Linked DNA regions of Homo sapiens: all the other regions are linked to region 3. Evidence: promoter capture Hi-C in 16 types of primary human blood cells and fetal thymus (Javierre and others, 2016). All regions are on one chromosome and are shown on one strand. Each heading gives the region's core, a stretch centred on a gene start or on the middle of the fragment in contact. The rest is flanking DNA. Distances are from core to core; before and after follow the strand shown.

Region 1 (2,834 bases), core at 43-2,542, 1.7 Mb after region 3:
AGCTGAATAAAGACCTCATTGATGTTAACAAGAGTCCAAAGCAGAATTTGACCCAAACCTAGTGACTTAGCCCATTTTGTGCTGCTGTAACAAAATACCACAGACTGGGTGATTTATAAAAAACAAAAATTTAATCCTCACACTTCTGGAGTCTGGAAACCAAGATCAAGGTGCCAGCATCTGGTGAGGGCCTGTTTGCTACGTCCTCACATGTTGGAACACAGAAGGGCGGCAGAGAACCCACATCCACAAGCCCTTTTTAAGAGGGCTCTGCCCTCATGATCTAAACACCTCCCAGTGGTCCACACCTTCTAACATGGTTGCGCTGGGGATTAAGTTTTCAACACATGAGTCTTGGAGGGGACCAAAACATTCAAACCATAGCAACCATAGCACCCAGGGTAGGGATCTAGTGCTTTTGCCAACATCCCACACTGCATTGCAGGTAGCAGAAATGAAAATATTTTCCATGTATAAAGCAACATATACATGCAAGACACTGAAATTTAAAGAAAATACAATAGCTTCTATGGGACCACATTAACTTAGATGTGAACATGCATCAAATTGTAACTCTCCCTGAATTGTAACATACTCCTGTATAGAAAGTAATATCAAATTGCCTCTTTTATTCATTCCTGGATAGGGAAAAATGCATGGAGTCTTTGGAGTTCAGTCCCCTGGGTCAAGGTATCAGCTCTCTTACATACCAGGTGTGAGACTTTGGTCCTTGTGTCATTCCCTCACCCAAGCCTCACTTTCTTTCCTTGTAAAGTGGAGGCTCCTAGTTTCTCCTTCATGGGTTTCTGTGAACAGACTCACACAATGAATGCATTCACAACAATGAGAATTTCTCCTTCCACCCCACAGACTTCTGTTCTGCGCAGAGCCTGCTGCTCAGTAATAAGTAGAAAATGAATAGGAAAAACACTTCGGAAATCCAAGGCTGATGATTTGGAAATGTGCCTTTGTGAAGCTGATGTTCAAAGATAAAAACTGTTTTGAGCATAAAATAGTTATTTTACAGTCCACTTAGTTCTCATATGGTAATTTCATACCTGATTTTTTTTCTAAAATATATACTAATGTGTCAAATCCATGGCATAATCTTCTTCGTATTTACTCCTCTTTAAGGCTTTTAATTCTTCGATTTTAGTACACATAAAGAAAAGCCATGAAGAGGCATTGATGACAAGTATTGATTCCAGCCTATGAAATATTCCCACTGTCCTTTAAAGTTTTAGGTCTTTACAACCTCAGGGGAAGGAGGAGAGGAGGCTGCTCTGAATTCATACGGTATATCTGAGAGGACCAGCCCTGTCCTCTCTCAAGGTGGACTGGTTTCAGAAGCAGTGAGCATGCCCTGCACTTACATCATCCCTTCCTCATCATCCCTCACCCGGTGCTCATAGCAGTATCATCATGTAAGCACAGGAAAGGAATGGCTGCTCTATTAGGAGTCACTGAAGGCTGAGACCAGCAGCAGCAGCAGCTCCAGAATGTTTACAGAAGAGGGGCTTAAGTGCTGGGGTAGGGTTAAAGGGGGTCTTAGAGGACTGGCCTGAGGCCACTTTAGTACACCAAGCCTCTTGGCTTATAAATGGAGGCATGTTTATTTGAACTCTTGAGGGGGTGGGAGATGTGGTTGCAGTGTCTGACTGATACCATTGAAGCAGCATTTGCAAAAGCAGTAAAATTCTGCTTTGCTTCTTTTTCCCTGTACTCTCTTTCCTTAACATTTAATATGGAAAAAATTGATAAACCTTCACCTCAAGTCAGGCCACTGCTAGCCCATATGGTACTTTTGTGCAGATTAGAAAAAGATCCCCGTCTTGGCAGACACATCAGTGAGACACACAGGTTGGTAACTGGATTCAGTCCCTACTCAGCTCCTTAGCCAGGAATATTTGTGAAGTGCACAACTGTAGAGCTGTACCTGGCAGCCGTGCCTCAGAGGCAGGCCTGTGGCTTCAGGCCCCAGGAAAGGGCTGCCTTCACTCAGTGGCAAGGGTCCAGCCCTGGATTTTGAATTTCCCAGCTTTTAAGAGTTAACTCTCATGCTTGCTTTTCTGTCCTGAGCCTCTTTCATTTCTGCTTTTGGCAGTTTTCTTTTTTCTATACCACATTATATATGATGGACTTTCAGAAGTAGAAAAGAGCAGGCCGGTTTCCTTGGCTCTTCCATCTATTTGTGTTTGGTACTTGGTTGAATGTGTGCTTTTCCAGATGATGTCACCATGTCTTTAAATAGTCCTCAAATACTCTTTGCTAAAGGCTTTTCAAAAGACAGTAAAATGTTTCTCTTTACCTGCTTTGGAGCTTAGTACTGTGATTTTAAGACAAACAGGAGCTATAAAGGCTGGCTTTTGAGTTCAACACGTTTCCAGGAGGCACAGAGCTAGGCTAGGTCACTCTAGAAACCAACCTGGTAGCTGTCTTCTGCATTGTCTTGGGGAAATTATAGCAGACAGCCAAAATAGAAAGGGTAAAAGTCCTTGGGCTAAAGGATTTTCGAATATTGTTTCAAAGTAAGAAGTGCTGCATATGCAGTTAACTGTTGCTGTGTCACTGCCTAGATCTTAATGGCTTAAAACAACATCCATTTATTATTCCTCTTGGTTACTTTGGAGGGAGGGAGGGTTGGCTGAGCAGTTCCACTGATCTAGGCTGGGCTCTATTGATCTCAGCTCACTCACACATCTGCAGTGGGATGGACAGTTTTGTGTGTCAACTTTGCTAAGCTATTGTACCCAGTTATTTAATCAAATACTAATCTAAGTGTTGCTGTGAAGGTGTTTTGTAGATTTGATTAACATCTACAATCAGTTGACTTT
Region 2 (2,700 bases), core at 54-2,553, 1.4 Mb after region 3:
GTTCCACATGGCTGGGGAAGCCTCACAATCATGGTAGAAGATGAAGAAGGAGCAAAGGCACATCTTACATGGCAGCAGGTGAGAGAGCATGTGCAGAGGAACTACCCTTTATAAAACCATCAGAGGCCAGGTGCAGTGGCTCACACCTGTAATCCTAGCACTTTGGGAGGCCGAGGCAGGCAGATCATCTGAGGTCAGGCATTCAAGACCAGCCTGGCCAACATGGCAAAACCCCATGTTTCAAAATTAGCTCAGTGTGGGGGCACATGCCTGTAATACCAGCTACTAGGGAGGCTGAGGCAGGAGAATCGCTTGAACCTGGGAGGCAGAGGTTGCAGTGAGCCAAGATCACGCTACTGTACTCCAGCCTGGGCAACAGAGCCAGACTTTGTCTCAAAAAATAAAATGAAATAAAATAAAAATAAATAAATAGATAGATAAATAAAACCATCAGAGCTCGTGAGAACTCACTACCATGACAACATGAGGGTAACTGATCCCATAATTAAATTACTTCCCATCAGGTCCCTCCCTTGACACTTGGGGATTATGGGAGCTACAATTCAAGATGAGATTTGGGTTGGGACACAGCCAAACCATATCATTCCACCCTGGCCCCTCCAAAATCTCCTGTCCTCACATTTCAAAAGCAATCATGCCTTACCAGCAGTCCCCCAAAGTCTTAACTCATTTCAGCATTAACTCAAAAGTCTACAGTCCAAAGTCTCATCTGAGACAAGGCAAGTCCCTTCTGCCTATGAGCTTGTAAAATCATAAGCAAGTTAAGTTACTTCCTAAATACAATGGGGGTACAAGCATTGGGTAAATACACCCATTCCAAATGGGAGAAATAGGCCAAAATGAAGGGACTACAGGGCCCATGCAAGTCCAAAATCCAGCAGGGCAGTCAAATCTTAAAGCTCCAAAATGATCTGCTTTGACTCCGTGTCTCACATCCAGTTCACGTTGATACAAGAGGTAGGTTGCCATGGTCTTGGGCAGCTCTGCCCCTGTGGCTTTGCAAGATACAGCCTCCTTCCCAGCTGCTTTAACAGGCTGGCATTGAGTGTCTCTGGCTTTCCCAGGCATATGCTGCAAGCTGTTGGTGGATCTACCATCCTGGGGTCTGGAGGATGGTGGCCCTCTTCTCACAGCTCCACTAGGCACTGCCCCAGTGGGGACTCTGTGTGGGGGATCCCACCCCACATTTCCCTTCTGCATTGCCCTTCTGCCTTAGCAGAGGTCGTGCATGAGGGCCCTGCCCCTGCAGCACACCTCTGCCTGAACATCCGGGTGTTTCCATACATCCTCTGAAATCTAGGCAGGGTTCCCAAACCTCAATTCTTGACTTCCGTGCACCCACAGTCCCAATATCACATGTGAGCAGCCTGAGACTGCACAAAGCAGCAAGGCCCTGGGCCCAGCCCATAAACCCATTTTTCCTCCTTGGCCTCCTGGCTTGTGATGAGAGGGACTTCCAGGAAGACCTCTTACATGCCCTGGAGACATTTTTCCCATTGTCGTGGTAATTAACATGTGGCTTCTTGTTACTTATGCAAATTTCTGCAGCAGGCTTGAATTTCTCCGCAAAAAATGGGTTTTTCTTTTCTATCACGTCATCAGGCTGCAAGTTTTCCTTTTATGCTCTGCTTCCTCTTGAACGCTTTGCCACTTAGAAATTTCTTCCCTCAGGTACCCTAAATCATCTCTCTAAAGTTCAAAGTTCCACAGATAACTAGGGCAGGGGCAAAATGCCACCAGTCTCTTTGCTAAAGCATAGCAAGAGTGACCTTTATTCCATTTCCCAACAAGTTCCTCATCTCCATCTGAGACCACCTCAGCCTGGACTTCTTTGTCCGTATCCCTATTAGCCTTCTGATCAAAGCCATTCAACAAGTCTCTAGGAAGTTCCAAACTTTCCTACATCTTTCTGTCTTCTGAGCCCTCCAAGTCTCTAGGAAGTTCCAGAGTTTCCCACATTTTCCTGTCTTCTTCTGAGCCCTCCAAACTGTTCCAACCTCTGCCTGTTACCCTGTTCCAAAGTTGCTTCAACATTTTCTGTTAACCTTATAGCAGAGCCCCACTACCTCAGTTCCAATTTACTGTATTAGTCCATTTTCATACTACTGTGAAGAAATAGCCAAGACTGGGTAATTTATAAAGAAAAAGAGGTTCAGTGGACTCACAGTTCCACATGGCTGGGGAGGCCTCACAATCGTGACAGAAGGCAAAGGAGGAGCAAAGACACATCTTACCTGGCAGCAAGGCAAGAGAGAGAGCATGTGCGGAGGAACTGCCCTTTATGAAACCATCAGATTTCCTGAGATTTATTCACTATCATGAGACCAGCAGGGGAAAAACTTGCCCCCATGATTAAATTACTTCCCACCGGGTCCTACCATTGACACATGGGGATTATGGGAGCTACAATTCAAGATGAGATTTGAGTGGGGACACAGCCAAACCATGTCATTAATGTAATTTCTGAGCACATTTGATGTAACTTCTTAACACATGCAGAGCAACCACCACCTATGTTTAAGCTATGGGGTGAATCAATGCTTTGCAGCAATATAACAAACTCTTTGAAAGATTCTCCCAGGTTGCAGTACTCAGTAGGACTTCTGAATAAAATTAACTTTAATTATTTAAAAGCCTGTTTTTTTTTCTTTAGTTGACATAACATACCAGGATATTGTA
Region 3 (2,715 bases), core at 24-2,523:
ACAGGCGTGAGCCACCACGCCTGGCCTAAAATGAGTACAATCACTCTAGGGGTTTACAGTTTTGGTGAAAGTGAGGTATTCTCTATTTTTAAATTTTATTTTTTAGAGACAGGGTCTTCCTTTCTTCCCCAGGCTGGGGCATAGTAGTGCAATCACAGCTCACTGTAACCTTAAACTCCTGGGCTCAAGCAGTCCTTCCACCTCAGCCTCCTGAGTACCAGGGTCTACAGGTACCTGCCACCATGCCCACTATGCCCAGCTGATTTCTTAATTTTGGGGACAGGCACTGTCTTCCCCAGGCTGGTCTCCGGAGGTGAAGTAATCCTCTGGCCTCAGTCTCCCAAAGTACTGGGATTACAGGGAGGAGCCATCGTGCCCGATCTGAAAATAAGGTTTTTTGATGGAAATTGAGATTTTTCTCAAGTATGTTTGGAATGCCCTGTGCAATAATCATTCCAAGAACAGAGATGTTCTTAAGGACTGTTGTCACTGCATGTGGGTAAACCGCTGTGCATAACTGGTTTATTGAGATACTCAACAGTGGCAGGATTTCAGTAGTGGTGTAAATTAATGTCTTCTAATAGCTTCTGTATGGCAGTATCCAGATAATTTCGTCATGTTTAATCCATGGATCTCTGGTAAGTTGGTACTATTGGCCTTATTTAAGGAATTTTCTAAAGGTCACCACTGCAAAGCTGGAGTTTGAACTTCTAGTGTGCCATTAACTGATTTATATGTTAGAAACCACAGTACTAGAAATTGGTAGATGGGGAATTGTTAACTGAGAGATCTTACCCAGTCAGTCTTTCCCTGTTTCCTACTCTACTATGCACACAGCCATGTGCATACTATCTTTTGATAATATAACTATCTTTCCTATATTTGGTCACAAGATCAACCTTAGGTGGGTTATGCTGTGTGAGCATTACACGTTCTCATTGTGTCAAAGGCACTGGGTGTACTGTGTTGGGTGGTTTCTACATTTAAAGATAAGCTAGTGTGCTTGGACGTGTGGGAAATGCATGTAACATTTGCAATAAGGGAGATTGGGTGCTGTGAGAATAATGGGGCTAACAAATCGGGTGGTCATTGATGGGCCTTGCAGAGTTCTGGTCAGTCTGATACCTGCAGGCTGAGGATGTTCCAGTGAGGTTCATGTGGAAAGTGATGGGTTTGGGAATGGCTGGAAGCAGGGTCATAGACCTGAAGTACGTGAATCCATGTGGAAAGCTGAGCCTGCCTGCGCCTGCGCAGTGCAGCTTAGTGCGTCGGCGCGCAGTTCTCCCGCCCGTTTCAGCGGCGCAGCTTCTGTAGTTGGGCTACTGGAGGGGTCGCTCAGAAACCTCATACTTCTCGGGTCAGGGAAGGTTTGGGAGGATGCTGAGGCCTGAGATCTCATCAACCTCGCCTTCTGCCCCGGCGGTTTCCCCGTCGTCGGGAGAAACCCGCTCACCTCAGGGTCCCCGCTACAATTTCGGACTCCAGGAGACTCCACAGAGCCGCCCTTCGGTCCAGGTGGTCTCTGCATCCACCTGTCCTGGCACGTCAGGAGCTGCGGGCGACCGGAGCAGCAGCAGCAGCAGCCTTCCCTGCCCCGCGCCAAACTCCCGGCCAGCTCAAGGCAAGGAGTGATTGGGTGGAGGAGTCTCCTTGAGGCTAGAGGCCGGCAGTTCATGGAGGCTCGGGGGCACGTGGGTGGTGGTTACCACAGTGAAGTTGTGATTTGGTTGGGGCGTGAGATCTGAGTGCCCTGGGAATTTGGTGAGTCTGGGTGATTAGAAGCCTTGACTTTTCAAATTGGTTCTATTGCAAGACCTTGACTGTGGATGGCTCAGTTCTGAGAAAGGCTGAAGTATCCCATATAACGTCCCTCACAGTGTCTGACAAATGACAGTTTGTGCGTGAGTTTGCTGATAGAAGTTGTGAGCTGATCTTTGGCTGCTGAATTTAATTCTCCAAATCCTGCTAAGGTGGGATAAAATAGATTAAATTGAACATTTCATCTAATTCAGGGAAAATAATATGTTTAGTATTAAAAGAGTGGGCTGGGCGGTGGCTGACGCCTGTAATCCCAGCACTTTGGGAAACCAGGGTGGGCGGATCACTTGAGGCCGGGAGTTCCACACCAGCCTGGCCAACATGGTGAACCTCCCACCCCCATCCCCTATCTCTACTAAAAGTACAAAAATTATCTGGGTGTGGTGGCACGTGACTGTGGTCCCAGCTACTCAGGAGGTTGAGGTGGGAGGATGGCGAGTCCGGGAGGTCGAGGCTGCCGTGAGCTGAGATTGCGCCACTGCATTTCAGCCTGGGTGACACAGTGAGACCCTGACTCAAAACAAACAAACAAAAAAGATGCATGTCCTTCAAATCATTTATTATTTTGTTAGTCTCTATTCATGACAAAGCATCACCATTTTTCACACACGATTGCAACACAATGGTAAAGTAACAAATACCAAATCCAATGGTCATTTTTCAGTTCATCTCATGTGACCTTTCTGCTGTATTTAATGTTCTTAATTTCTTTATTTTTAGAAACAGAGTCTCGCTATGCTGCCCATGCTGGTCTCAAACTCCTGGTCTCAAGTGCTCCTGCCTCGGTCTGCCCAAGCATTGGGATTACAGGCATGAGCCACTGCTGCCTGGCCTATGTTTAATGTTCTTGACTGGTCTTCTCTTAAACTCTTTTAATTTGGCTTCCTTGATTCCACT
Region 4 (2,840 bases), core at 5-2,504, 1.6 Mb after region 3:
TCTTAGCTATGGTGAATAGTGCTGCACCTGAATGTTTTTGAGCAAGATATAGGCAAGATCAGCCTGCTGGTAATATGTGGCTTGCTGTGACCAGAAGACTAAGCCAGAAGTCAAGAAGGAGTTAAGCAATTATAGCAACCTTTCAGCTAGGACATGAGCATGACTTTAACTTGAACAATGGCATTGGCAATGGAAAGGAGGAATATTAGAATGTTAAAGATACAAAAACTTAGGGATACACAATTTTTTCATCTCTGAGGAACATTAAATATTATTTTACCCTAATTGTCACTGTAAATTTCTAGAATGTCATTATAATCAATCAGAGCTTTGACCAGCATGAGTTAACCACTATTACTACTAAGTTGACAAGGCCAAGCAAAGAAACTCAAGGTTTTAGCTTACATTTAGAGCATCTTCGTGACATAAATACAATTCCCATTAGGCATTCTGAAATGCAAAATATTTTTTAAAGTAACTTGTGGATGCTTATCACTGCTTTCCTAAACCCCAATCATACTCCCAGGCTGGAAACCACTGACTGGACCTAGAACGTCTTCATTTATAGGTGAAGAAGCTTAATCACATGTGTCTGAAAACATACTCCAAGTGATGAGCAGCATGGAGTCAAAACAAGCCTCTTGCATCTTGCTTAAAGTTAGCTACATTCTGCTGGGAATTAACAGGACTTGGTATCTGATTAGTAACATTTTTAGGGAACAACTGAATCATTTGAAAAGCAAATAATCATCCTTTCATTTATCTTTTGTTTAAGACTGGCTTTCCATTAGTAAAGGTTTGCTCAGAGCAATGTAAACCATTATTTCTGTGTTAAAATTGGCTGCTAAAACCACCACCTGGATACTTTTGTCTAACATTGATTTCTCAGCTGCTTATTTTCTTATTATCCTGCCATTTTAAATGACAAGCATTACTGTTTCTTGATCCATTATGACATAATGCCATATTAACAATCATATTGTTTGAAAGTTCCATTGTCATGCACATATATAAATGAGGCTTTAAGAGACTCAAGGTTTGAATTCCTCTTATTCTACTCTGTAACATTTTTTCTTCCATAATTCTGCAAATACAATATCACAAGTGTTGGGCATTAATTGCTTATTCAGATCAATCTCACTGGTCTCCGTAGTGACATGCATATTTTATGATACAAGTCAAGCTGCTAGATTAACAGATGTTTGTCTTTAAAGGAAAGGAAAAGTGAAACAGCAGTCACAGCATCTCTGTCCCTGTATGCATTCAATGTTAAATGCTACATTTAGAGAACAAATTAATAGGTGTATTATCTCTGAATTATCATCACCCCAAGCACTGTCCTCTGTCAGTAAGTTATTTTCAGCATTCAGGTAGTCTTTGCCACTAAATCTTTAACATCTGAGAAACCCAAAGCCATGTAAAAGAACCTGGTCGTTCTTTTGGTTGTTTTGTTGTTGTTGTTGTTGTTGTTTTTGCATTAAGCATTCCTCATGTATGGGAAACTATGATAATTCAGAATGAAAAACGTGGGAGAAATACCTTTAAAATGTTATCAGCTACATAAAGCCTGACATTTAAGAAAACTATTATGCTCTACTGAAAACAATGTGGGAAGCATAAGCTCTATGGAAAAAAAAAAAAAAGATTAATTACAGCCTTGAACTTTCTCCACTTGGCCAAAAGGAGAATAAGAGAATGTGAAGTGTGAAAGCTCTTTTGACGTGGTGACTGGAAGGGCTGCTGTTGCAATGGACAGTCTGAATCACAGACCGCAAATGAAGGAAGCAAATTCAGAATATCAGGGAAGTGGAGGAAAGTAGAAGAGAAGAACCAGGAGACTGGATGGAAGCAGAGCTAGCTCCGAAATGAGAACTACCTTGTCTGGAAAAAAGAAGGCTTACTGATAGTCAAGCAGCATAATTAAGGATCAGTGAAGCTTACAACGTTGAGAATAGTAACTGACTTCTTTGACTAGAGAGCAGCCTGAATTGGAGGGGACTGTACTGTGGGACCCTGTGAGGTATGAAAGTGGATATCCCAAGGCTGCCTTTCTGATGTCTCCAGAGAGAGACTGTAGAATTACTTTGATGTGATACACTATTGGTAAAAGCCAAGACCACATCTGCCTGAGAAAAGAAAATGGTGGAAATGAGGGAATAGAAACATTCCATTTTCAAACGTGTAGTTAAGATGTTTGCAAATTCTTGTCCCAAACGCCAGGAAAGAAAGTGGATGAATCAATGGCTACTGCAAGAATAGTTTCTGTGCCTTGCTAATAGGGAAGAAGGAAGTATCATTATCTGGGCCACTGAGGCTGCCTGAAACAGGAGAAATGCTGGATTACATAAGTTAAATACAGAAAAGTGACAGAAGGATGTAGTGAGGAGGAGAAGATGACTGCAGAAAAAAGGAAGATGGAGGAAATGAATACAATTTTAGCTTTTCATAGAAACTGATAGTGTGATTAATAGGAAATTTGTGAAAATTTGGGAGGTTAAATAATTGCAAATTATTTTATGCATAATATGACACCACAGTGTCTCTAAAATTTGTTTTTTAAGGCTGGGCACGATGGCTCATGCCTGTAATCTCAGTACTTTGGGACGCTGAGACAGACAGATTGCTTGAGCCCAGGAGTTCAAGACCAGTCTGGGCAACATGGTGAAACCCCATCTCTACAAAAAATACAAGAATCAGCTGGATGTGGTGGTGAATGCCTGTAGTTCCAGATACTTGGGAGGCTAAGGTGGGAGGTTCACTTGAGCCCAAGAGGTGGAGGCTGCAGTGAGCCATGATCTCACCACTGCACTCCAAGTTGGGCAACAGAATGAGACTCTGTC
Region 5 (2,889 bases), core at 359-2,858, 1.8 Mb after region 3:
GGCACTTTTGCCTGGAGCAATTTATTGATCCAGAAGAGAGGACTGAGAGGCTGAGCAGTCCTTTTGACAGCTTAAAACAGTAGAAGATCAGAGTTGGAGTCTAGGGCCTATCAAGAGAGAACTTTGAAACCAGCCCAGCCCTTGGGTTGGGATCCTGAAAGGCTATACCTTAGAACTAAGGGTGAACAGGAAACAAACAGCTTTCTCAGAACAGACTAGAATATCTCAGTTTGGAATTAATTAGTAAAGTTGAAGATGTACATACCCTAAGATCCAGACATCCCATACCTAGGTACGACCTCAAGAAACTCTTGAATATACACAGTATAAGACATATGTTCATAGCAGCCTTATTAATAACCCCAAAGTCCATCTAATACTAATGCTTAATATAGCAATGAAAATGGACATCTATTTATATAAACACATACAAATATCACAAACATAATGTATTACAAATGAACAGATACAGTACGGTTCAAAAGCATGAAAAACTAAACTTTATTGTTAAAAGGATACACATATAGGTGGTTACAAGTTTTTAAAACAGCAAAGAATTATTTTCTCAAAAGTAAGATCATATTTACCTCTGGGAAGAGGAAAGGGGCAAGGTATAACTGAAGAACTATTCCTAGGAGACTTGTAAAGTGCTATCAATATTTTATTTCTTAACCTGGATAGTGATTAAACAACTATAGGCTATTTGATTTCATAATTACTCTATAACTGTGCATAAATACTTCATTAGTCTTATATGCATAAGATATTGCACAATTTTTTTTAAGGGAAAATAACTTTTCTAGGAAGAAAATGTTACAAAGAGATCACCTGCACTCTTTAGAACTTTTTAAGAGTCCTAGTTCAAGTCCCAGCTCTACCAGCAACTAACCATGGAACTTTATTCAAGTCATTAAACCTTGGGTCTTGCTTCTTTGTCTTTAAAATGAAAATGGACAAAATGGATAATTGCAAAAGCTTTTTTTCTAAGCAAAACATTCAAGGATCCTAAGATACTTGTACCACTCAGGTCACTCATTACTATATATTCTTTCTGAGTTGTAAATGGATTCCATTTATGTTGTATACACAAATACAGCATTAAGTCTCCACTTTCTTCATACAGAATCGTATCTGACAACTGGGCTTATTGGCTCTGCCCACAGCTAGAAGTATGCAAAGTTACTGCCTTCAAAGAGGAGAATATTTAAAAAGACCTATGTGATAAGTTTCTCCTACTTTATAGTGTCTACTCATGAGGCATAATAACTTTTCTCTCACAAAAGTCACTTCTAAAAGGAAATTATCAGGAATATTATGGCTGGTTTATGAAGAGACTGGCTGTTCCCTAGGTCACTAAACAGTATACTGCCTGAAGGCAAAAATTTTTAGGTACACCTATCCCTTTAGTTCTTAAAATGAATGTCTTATTTTATTATATTGTGTGATTTTTTAAGAGGAAAGCCATTTTTCTACATCTTTAATGCTGTCCCATAGCATAGTAAGGTTCAAGAAACAGAAAGTGCTCATAAAAATGAAAACAGAAACTACAAAAGAAAATAAGAGCTGAGTAGTTATACAGATGGATGACTCTTCAATGACGACAGTTCAGATATAGTTCTAGACTATATTTAGAGCACTGTTTTAATATTCTGTTTATGACATCTTGGGAGTTCTTTAAGTATGCTAAAGGAACATACAAGCCTCAATTCTTTTCAACACTTAACACTTAAATGAACACATAAAAAACAAACTTGCCAAATTTATGAACATGAAGCTGAGAAGGATAGCAAATACTATAGATTAAAAAAATCAGGATTAAGAAATAACAGGCAAGCTAGAAAACTAGACCAACAACAAGATAACATTTAACTACATAAACAAAAAATATGGCATTGAATTACAAAACAACCAGATAAGTATAGGATGGTATGAACTTGCCTTGACAGGCCCAAAAAAAAAAAAAAAAAAAAAAAATTGTGGTCCTCTCAGCTGGATCATTAGCTTACTATGAGGCAAAGTATAAAGTGCTGCTCAACAAACATTATTTGTAATATTATCTTGAACTTGCATCAACCCATTCAAACACTTACCATGCACATTCACTGTATGTTCTGTTACATCAACCATTCTAAAGGAGGCACATATAACCAACATGCAGCACTACCTTCAAGATCATTACAATTTAGGGAAGAAGATGTGACTGTGTGAACAGTAGTTGTTTATTTAAATATTGAAAAATAAGAAAGCTTATAAAATTCTTAGTGAATTCCTAGAATTTGCCAGAGTTTTAATGATTAATGTACTCTAAGAGAAATACACATATGCAAAATTTAACTAGCCATGATGAATGCATAAGCATGTTATGAACAAAATGATCATTTCAGGGAGATACAAACAATGCATCATATAAGAAGTAAAAAGCAAGTTGAATCCTGAAAAATAGATGGGATTTCAAAAGGAAAGGCAAAAAGAGGTTAAGACATTCTAGACAGAATATCAAATATTACACCTTATCAGGCTTTTAGTTTCCTCTTCTACAAAATAGGAGACTCTCTAAAATCTCTGTCCAATTCCAGAATCCCCAGGAAGTAGAGCATCTATATATTTTTTAAAACTCCACAGATTATTGTGAAGCATGCCCTTCACAAATTATTGTAAAGTGTACCATTCTAATGCAATACGGAGTAAATGTAAGTTTTAAACAATTAAATGATGATACAAGCAAACATTTGCATTTGGAAGGCTAATATGATCACAATGTATAAGATAAATTGGAGAGAGATGAAAATGGCAAAGGAAACTTCAAAGAAAGCTATGTAGCTGACGTATAAAATTACACTCTGAGCATCCTATTTAGCACCGAAGTTGTTAACTAACTGAAAAGCAGAA
Region 6 (2,700 bases), core at 15-2,514, 1.6 Mb before region 3:
ACATAAGCCAAGTCACTTCAAAACCCTGCAATGGCTTTGTTTCCCTCAAGAGTAAAAACCAAAATTCTTCCTATGGCCCTTTGTTCTCTCTCTGACCTTCTCTCGCTACTTTCTCCTTTGGTTACTTTCACTCAAGTCTCTGTATTTTCTAAATGTTCTTCAATAAGATACTGTTTTTTTAATTAATGAAGTTTTAAATGTAAAACTATGAAAGAGTAATCTAATCTGCCATTTTATCCAAATGTTTCCACTATTAGAACACGATTGTATAACAAGTCTGAGAAGAAAAACTAAGTAAATTTATGACAAGAGTTTATGGTGCCCTGAATGTCTACGTACCTAATGAAGACGTTGATACAGAGAAATCGTCTCAAAAAATCAAACGGTATGGTGAAATACCACAAGTTCTGGGTTTGGGATTGAAATATATTTCTTAAATCTTTTATTACTTACTAATTGTGATACCTTGACTAACTCACTATTCTCTGATTCAGTTTTCTTCTGTGTAAAGATGAAGTGGTCTGTAAAACCAAGAAACCTCGTGTTCTATAACAGGAACACCTTTATATAGCTACCCAAAAAAACACCTAAAAAGGCTGACTTATTCCTAAGAGTGTTATTGAACATTCTAGATTAATCTGCATATACAAAAGAATGCCAGAGAAGAAACCAAAATACCAAAAATATTTGGAGCCTGGTTGCGGACTGAATTTTATACAACTTTCAAAGACACTATTTGAGAGGCTGTCGTGTGTAGCCTACTAAGAAAAAACAGAGGGGTGGGGTGGCTCACTCTCTAGGAACCACAAACTTAAGGTTCCTAGAAAGAGCAGAGATTTTAAATATTCAGACTGTGTATGTATCATGACCCAGGGTTGGGGGCAGATGGCCCGGGGTGGCGGGGGAAAGGAGAGATGGCGGAGATCTTCTATCAGGCTATCCTGGGGAACTGCTCCAGGCTGAAACAAACCACCAGTTAGGACGAACCGCCTTTGATGTGAAAGCTGGGAAGCTAGAATGTAGTTTCGCCTTATCCTTAGCGGGTCGGTTCTAACAATTTTGTCACCCAAACTGAACCACTCACCGGGTCAACTGGGCTGCAAGCCCTTATGAGTTGGAGACAAGTGGCCCAGCCCCAACACAGTCAGACAAATCGCTGGGCGGCCATCTGCTCCTGAGACCGTTGCTAGAGAAACAAGACAACATCCAAGTTCTCCACATCATGGTTTTCCGGGCGCCAGCCAAGGCGCTCCGGGGGCGTGGTTACGTGGGCGACGCACGGAGGGGGCGGGTCAGAAACAACCGGGCGGAGGCGCACCCCAGGGCGCATGCGTGCTGTGCGGCGCGGTCTCAGGGAAGGTGGGGCTATGGCAGCTGCTAGGGACCCTCCGGAAGTATCGCTGCGAGAAGCCACCCAGCGAAAATTGCGGAGGTTTTCCGAGCTAAGAGGTACCAGAGAAGGCACCGGAGTTCTCCTGGGCAATGCAGAGGGAGGGTGCTTTTACGTGCCAGGAGGTTTGCTGGACTGTCACTTCCCGTTTACTTCTCATCTGTAGGCCTATGACGCTCCCCAGGAGTAGCTAGCTAATAATCCTTTTGAGTTTTTTATTCTTTTCACTGTCCCTGCTTGACATGCTTGTTGCTTACTTTATTCTTAGTAGTATAGATATTAAAAATGAGGGCGGAGGAAGAAGAAGAAAATCTTACTAGTGAAGTTATGCATTGATTAGCTCATTAATAAAAGTTGCTTTAAATAAATCTAAAAGATACGAAGCACAGTATTTTGAACTTTATGAGTAGATGCCAGCCCCCTATCTACTTCACGCTTTACATTACGTTCATCTACTTCTGTAATGTAACCGTTTGTTGAGGGAGTAACAGAACATGGAGGAATTATGGATTAAAAATTAAAAGGAAGAAATTTGTTATCAAAAAATTGGCTATGACACTTAATCCCTGTACACCTGTCTAATAAAAGTGATTATATTTGTGTTGCAGTGACTGCTTAAAAAATACTGGGACTAATTCTTGGATAACAGTAAAACTTTCAGGACTATTAGATTCTAGCTGACAAGTTCTGTTTGTTAACTAATTAAAATGCTAAATCATTTTGTTTATCAATAAAGAGATTCCAACTGTCTACTAAAAGTGCACACTGTCTTTTAAAGATGTCATCAGAGAGTTGGGACCTTCTGTTATCCAGAATTTTATGTTATATTCTAACAGCCTATGTAAGTTTGCATGGTTCATCTTAAAGTAATAGAAAATAAAGTACCCACATTTATAAACAGCAACATTGAGGGAAGGGATCTTTGGGTTGTGTCTTTCTTAGTCACCTAACACCAAGTGTCCGTGATACATAAGAATTGATTTGCAAAGCTGGAGATTTGTTTATGTTTATCTCCTCTTCTTATTGAAGAATTGAGGCAATAGTCTTTGGCAAGTTAAAAGTCGCTCTCTTAATCAAGAAACATTATGTCATTCAGAATTTATAATTAAATTGGATTGCAAACCATAAAAGGAGGGAGTGATCTAAAAGAAAAAAAAGGAACTTGTGAACAGTCTTCATTATAACTATTTTGAATCGTATTAATGCACCACTAATTATTCCCTAACTTTCAAAAGCCAAAGATACATTTTGGAAGATGATAATGGATATTACCTTCTTTATCATCTTTCTCAATAGGCAAACCTGTGGCA
Region 7 (2,859 bases), core at 276-2,775, 1.5 Mb after region 3:
ACATATGGGTTCCAGCTGGAATGGACGGGGAAGAGAATGTGAAGGTCTGAAGTCTCAGATCTGGAAGTGACATCCATCGCTTCTGCTCACAAGGCATTGCTGAGAATTTAGTCCTGTTGGAACTGAGAGGAAGGCCGGGAAGTAGAGTCCAGCTGGGCAGCCAGGTGCCTGGCAGCAATGCTATTACTATGGAAGTCTGGGAGAACTAACTAGCATCTTCTCCCACAGTTTGCCTCTCTGGCCATGCAAATGCTCGCCTGCTCCCTTCTTCCCACACATACAATGTACTCACTCACTCCCCAAGTAAAACAACCAGAGTCCCATCATTTAGTTCAAAAGTGGAGAATCTCTACTCTATATATAGTTTTCTTCATCAGGTCTAGCTTTGACTTCTCATACTCAGCCACCTGGAAACTGAACTTCATGTTATCTTCCTTGTCTACCACTAATAAAGAGTGGAGGAGCAAGCCCAGGACAATGAAATAAAGGCTCCTATTCAAAAAAGGAAAGTTTGAGAATATACACAGTACTCACTGAACCACAGTGAATCCTGTTAGGCAGGGATTGCAAAGGTCCTTGCCCTGGCAGTTCCTCTGAGAAGTTCTTCCTTGTCCATTATCTGCATGACACATTGAAGTAGTATATTGGAGACTAATATGCTATCCTCTCCTTTTTTTTTTTTTCCTAAGTGACAAGATCCTTCTCTGTCAGCCAGGGTGGAGTGCAGGGGCACCACTGTAGCTCACTGCAGCCTCGAACTCCTGGACCACACTCAGCTAGTTTTTTAAAAACTTTTTGTGGAGACAGGGGCTCCCTGTGTTACCCAGGCTGGTTTCAAACTCCTGGCCTCAAGTGATCATCCTCTCTCAGCCTCCTAAGTGCTGGGATTACAGGTGTGAGCCACTGCAACTGGCTGAGACCTATTTTAAGTTAAAAAAAAAATGCCTTTTTTTGGCTAGAATTATGTTTATTTTGGTAAAAACTGTTTCTTTCCAAATTTGGTAGATTTCCTCTCAAAAAGAGGAAAAAGCAAAAAGCTTCCAGTCCGTGCTAGTAACTATATCATAAGTCCTTTTCCAGAGATAGTTATTAAGCTGCTTTCTTTTTTATCTTCCCGTTTTTCCTTTTTCTGTTCATTTTTATAGATTGAGGGTACAAGTGCAGTTTCATTACGCAGATATATTGCATAGTGGTGATTTCTTTGCTTTCTCATTTTAATGACAATTAGCTTCAGGCCATCTAAAACAGCAGGCTTGGGTAGAAAGGCAGCATCCTTAGTCTAGGTTTTGCTTCAGGGCTAGGTGCCCTGTTTTTTGGTGGTAGTGGTGGGTAAATGGGAATTCTTTTTGCAATAGCCTAATCTCCTGCTGTTTGGAGGTATACAGGCAGTTGGCTTTTTTAACCTTGTGCGGTCTTAAATTAGTGGATACTTTCTTTTTTCTTATATCTGCTCGCAAAGCAGTCAATTCTTTCTTGAGTTAATCTATTTCTTGTAATATGTTGCTAAACGCAGCAAAGAGCAGTCAGTGTACACAGACACTCTAGCTCTTTCCAGCCATTTCTTTAGCTATGGGCTCCATTGGAACATGACCTGCCTCCCAAGTTATCACAGTAATAATGATGTTATGCAATGACATAACAGGGGTTATCAATTTTCCATCCTAAAATGTCTGTGCCCTTACTACCCAAGCAAATCAATGTCGCATGTTTTAGTTTTTTTGATATAGTAGCATGCCCCCACTTATGTAACTATTGGCTGTATTATTTAGAGTAAATCCCAGGTGCTATAATAGAAAGACACAATGACACAGTAGCATAATACAGAAACTTATTTCCCTTTTATATAATGGATGGCCTCACTGTGAATGAGGGGAGGACAGTTTTAGTCCTCACATTCATGCAGAGATGCGGGGTTTTTTCCAGCTCATTGTCTTTCCAACTCTAGAGCAACAGCTCTAAAATTTTTGGTCACAGGACCTCTTTACACTTTTTAAAAATTGTTAAGGACCTCAAAAAGCTTTCATTTATATGTGCTATATCTATTGATATTCACCATATGAGAAATCAAAACAAATTTTAAAATATTTGTTAAGTCCTTCAAAATAACAATAAATCCACACAAGTTAACTTGAATAACATATTTTTAGAAAAGTAATCATATTTTCCAAAACTTAAAAAGTGTTGAGAGAGATATTGCTTTATATATTTGCAAATCTCTTTAACTTCTAGCTAATAGAAGAGAGTTGTATTCTCATATCTGCTTTTGTATTCAAACTGCTGTGACATCACACTTCCTGTCGCCACTGCGAAACTCCACTGTACCTTTGTGAGAAAGTGAGAGTAAAAAAGGCACATAATGTCATAGTGTTAGTAGGAAAATAGTTTTGACCTATGACCTTCTGGAAGGGGTCTTGACGATCCTCAGAGGTTTAAGAGCACAATTTCAGAACAACTGCCCTGGGACATTGTAGACATCTGCATGTTGAAAGCTAGGTCACTGCCATGGCCAGGTTCCAGCTGATTGGAAGGGGAAGAGAGTGCAGAGGATCTATGCTCAAATTCTTTTTTAAACTTTTTTTATTTTAACTTTTGTGGGTACATAGTAGGTATATATATTTAAGGGGCACATGAGATATTTGGATACAGGTGTGCAGTGTGAAATAAGCACATCATGAAGAATGGGATATCCATCCCCTCAAGCATTTATCCATTGAGTTGCAAACAATCCAATTACACTCTTTAAGTTATTTTAAAATGTACAGTTATTATTGACTATAGTCTCCCTGTTTTGCTATCAAATAGTAGGTCTTATTCATTCTTTCTAACATTTTTTGTACCCATTAACCATCTCTGCCTCCA

Evidence for each region. Contacts are between HindIII fragments. The CHiCAGO score rates a contact against its expected background, and 5 or more counts as called.
Region 1: a fragment that was not itself captured here is called in contact with the fragment with the promoter of MSH4 in region 3 in 1 of 17 cell types (activated CD4 T cells); the score reaches 5.8 in activated CD4 T cells.
Region 2: a contact is called between a fragment that was not itself captured here and the fragment with the promoter of MSH4 in region 3, in 1 of 17 cell types (activated CD4 T cells). The highest score is 5.3, in activated CD4 T cells.
Region 4: a fragment that was not itself captured here is called in contact with the fragment with the promoter of MSH4 in region 3 in 1 of 17 cell types (activated CD4 T cells); the score reaches 5.1 in activated CD4 T cells.
Region 5: a fragment that was not itself captured here is called in contact with the fragment with the promoter of MSH4 in region 3 in 2 of 17 cell types (total CD8 T cells and total CD4 T cells); the score reaches 8.5 in total CD8 T cells.
Region 6: the fragment with the promoter of LRRIQ3 here is called in contact with the fragment with the promoter of MSH4 in region 3 in 1 of 17 cell types (activated CD4 T cells); the score reaches 7.2 in activated CD4 T cells.
Region 7: a contact is called between a fragment that was not itself captured here and the fragment with the promoter of MSH4 in region 3, in 1 of 17 cell types (activated CD4 T cells). The highest score is 5.5, in activated CD4 T cells.

What each region holds. Positions count from the first base shown.
Region 1 is chr1:77,466,508-77,469,341 of GRCh38, forward strand. The region is part of intron 8 of AK5 (adenylate kinase 5); the gene reads left to right. Among named protein-coding and RNA genes, the nearest start is that of AK5, 190 kb to the left of the region's middle. The HindIII fragment of the contact is 4,658 bases long and covers 1-2,834 here.
Region 2 is chr1:77,221,202-77,223,901 of GRCh38, forward strand. The region is part of intron 2 of LOC105378808 (a long non-coding RNA gene); the gene reads left to right. Among named protein-coding and RNA genes, the nearest start is that of PIGK, 3.1 kb to the left of the region's middle. The HindIII fragment of the contact is 4,293 bases long and covers 1-2,700 here.
Region 3 is chr1:75,795,609-75,798,323 of GRCh38, forward strand. MSH4 (mutS homolog 4) reads left to right here and starts at 1,274. Exons shown (of 20, transcript NM_002440.4): 1 at 1,274-1,621. The coding sequence starts at 1,378. The HindIII fragment of the contact is 6,934 bases long and covers 1-2,715 here.
Region 4 is chr1:77,387,120-77,389,959 of GRCh38, forward strand. The region is part of intron 6 of AK5 (adenylate kinase 5); the gene reads left to right. Among named protein-coding and RNA genes, the nearest start is that of AK5, 110 kb to the left of the region's middle. The HindIII fragment of the contact is 1,359 bases long and covers 576-1,934 here.
Region 5 is chr1:77,592,972-77,595,860 of GRCh38, forward strand. All of the region lies in intron 5 of ZZZ3 (zinc finger ZZ-type containing 3), which reads right to left. Among named protein-coding and RNA genes, the nearest start is that of ZZZ3, 88 kb to the right of the region's middle. RefSeq lists an enhancer at 1,446-1,565. The HindIII fragment of the contact is 1,271 bases long and covers 974-2,244 here.
Region 6 is chr1:74,196,912-74,199,611 of GRCh38, forward strand. It overlaps LRRIQ3 (leucine rich repeats and IQ motif containing 3), which reads right to left and starts at 1,265. Exons shown (of 8, transcript NM_001105659.2): 1 at 1,085-1,265. FPGT-TNNI3K (FPGT-TNNI3K readthrough) reads left to right here and starts at 1,331. Exons shown (of 27, transcript NM_001112808.3): 1 at 1,331-1,449. The coding sequence starts at 1,368. FPGT (fucose-1-phosphate guanylyltransferase) reads left to right here and starts at 1,331. Exons shown (of 4, transcript NM_003838.5): 1 at 1,331-1,449. The coding sequence starts at 1,368. RefSeq lists a silencer at 1,169-1,268. The HindIII fragment of the contact is 8,918 bases long and covers 1-2,700 here.
Region 7 is chr1:77,301,284-77,304,142 of GRCh38, forward strand. The region is part of intron 5 of AK5 (adenylate kinase 5); the gene reads left to right. Among named protein-coding and RNA genes, the nearest start is that of AK5, 21 kb to the left of the region's middle. The HindIII fragment of the contact is 980 bases long and covers 1,036-2,015 here.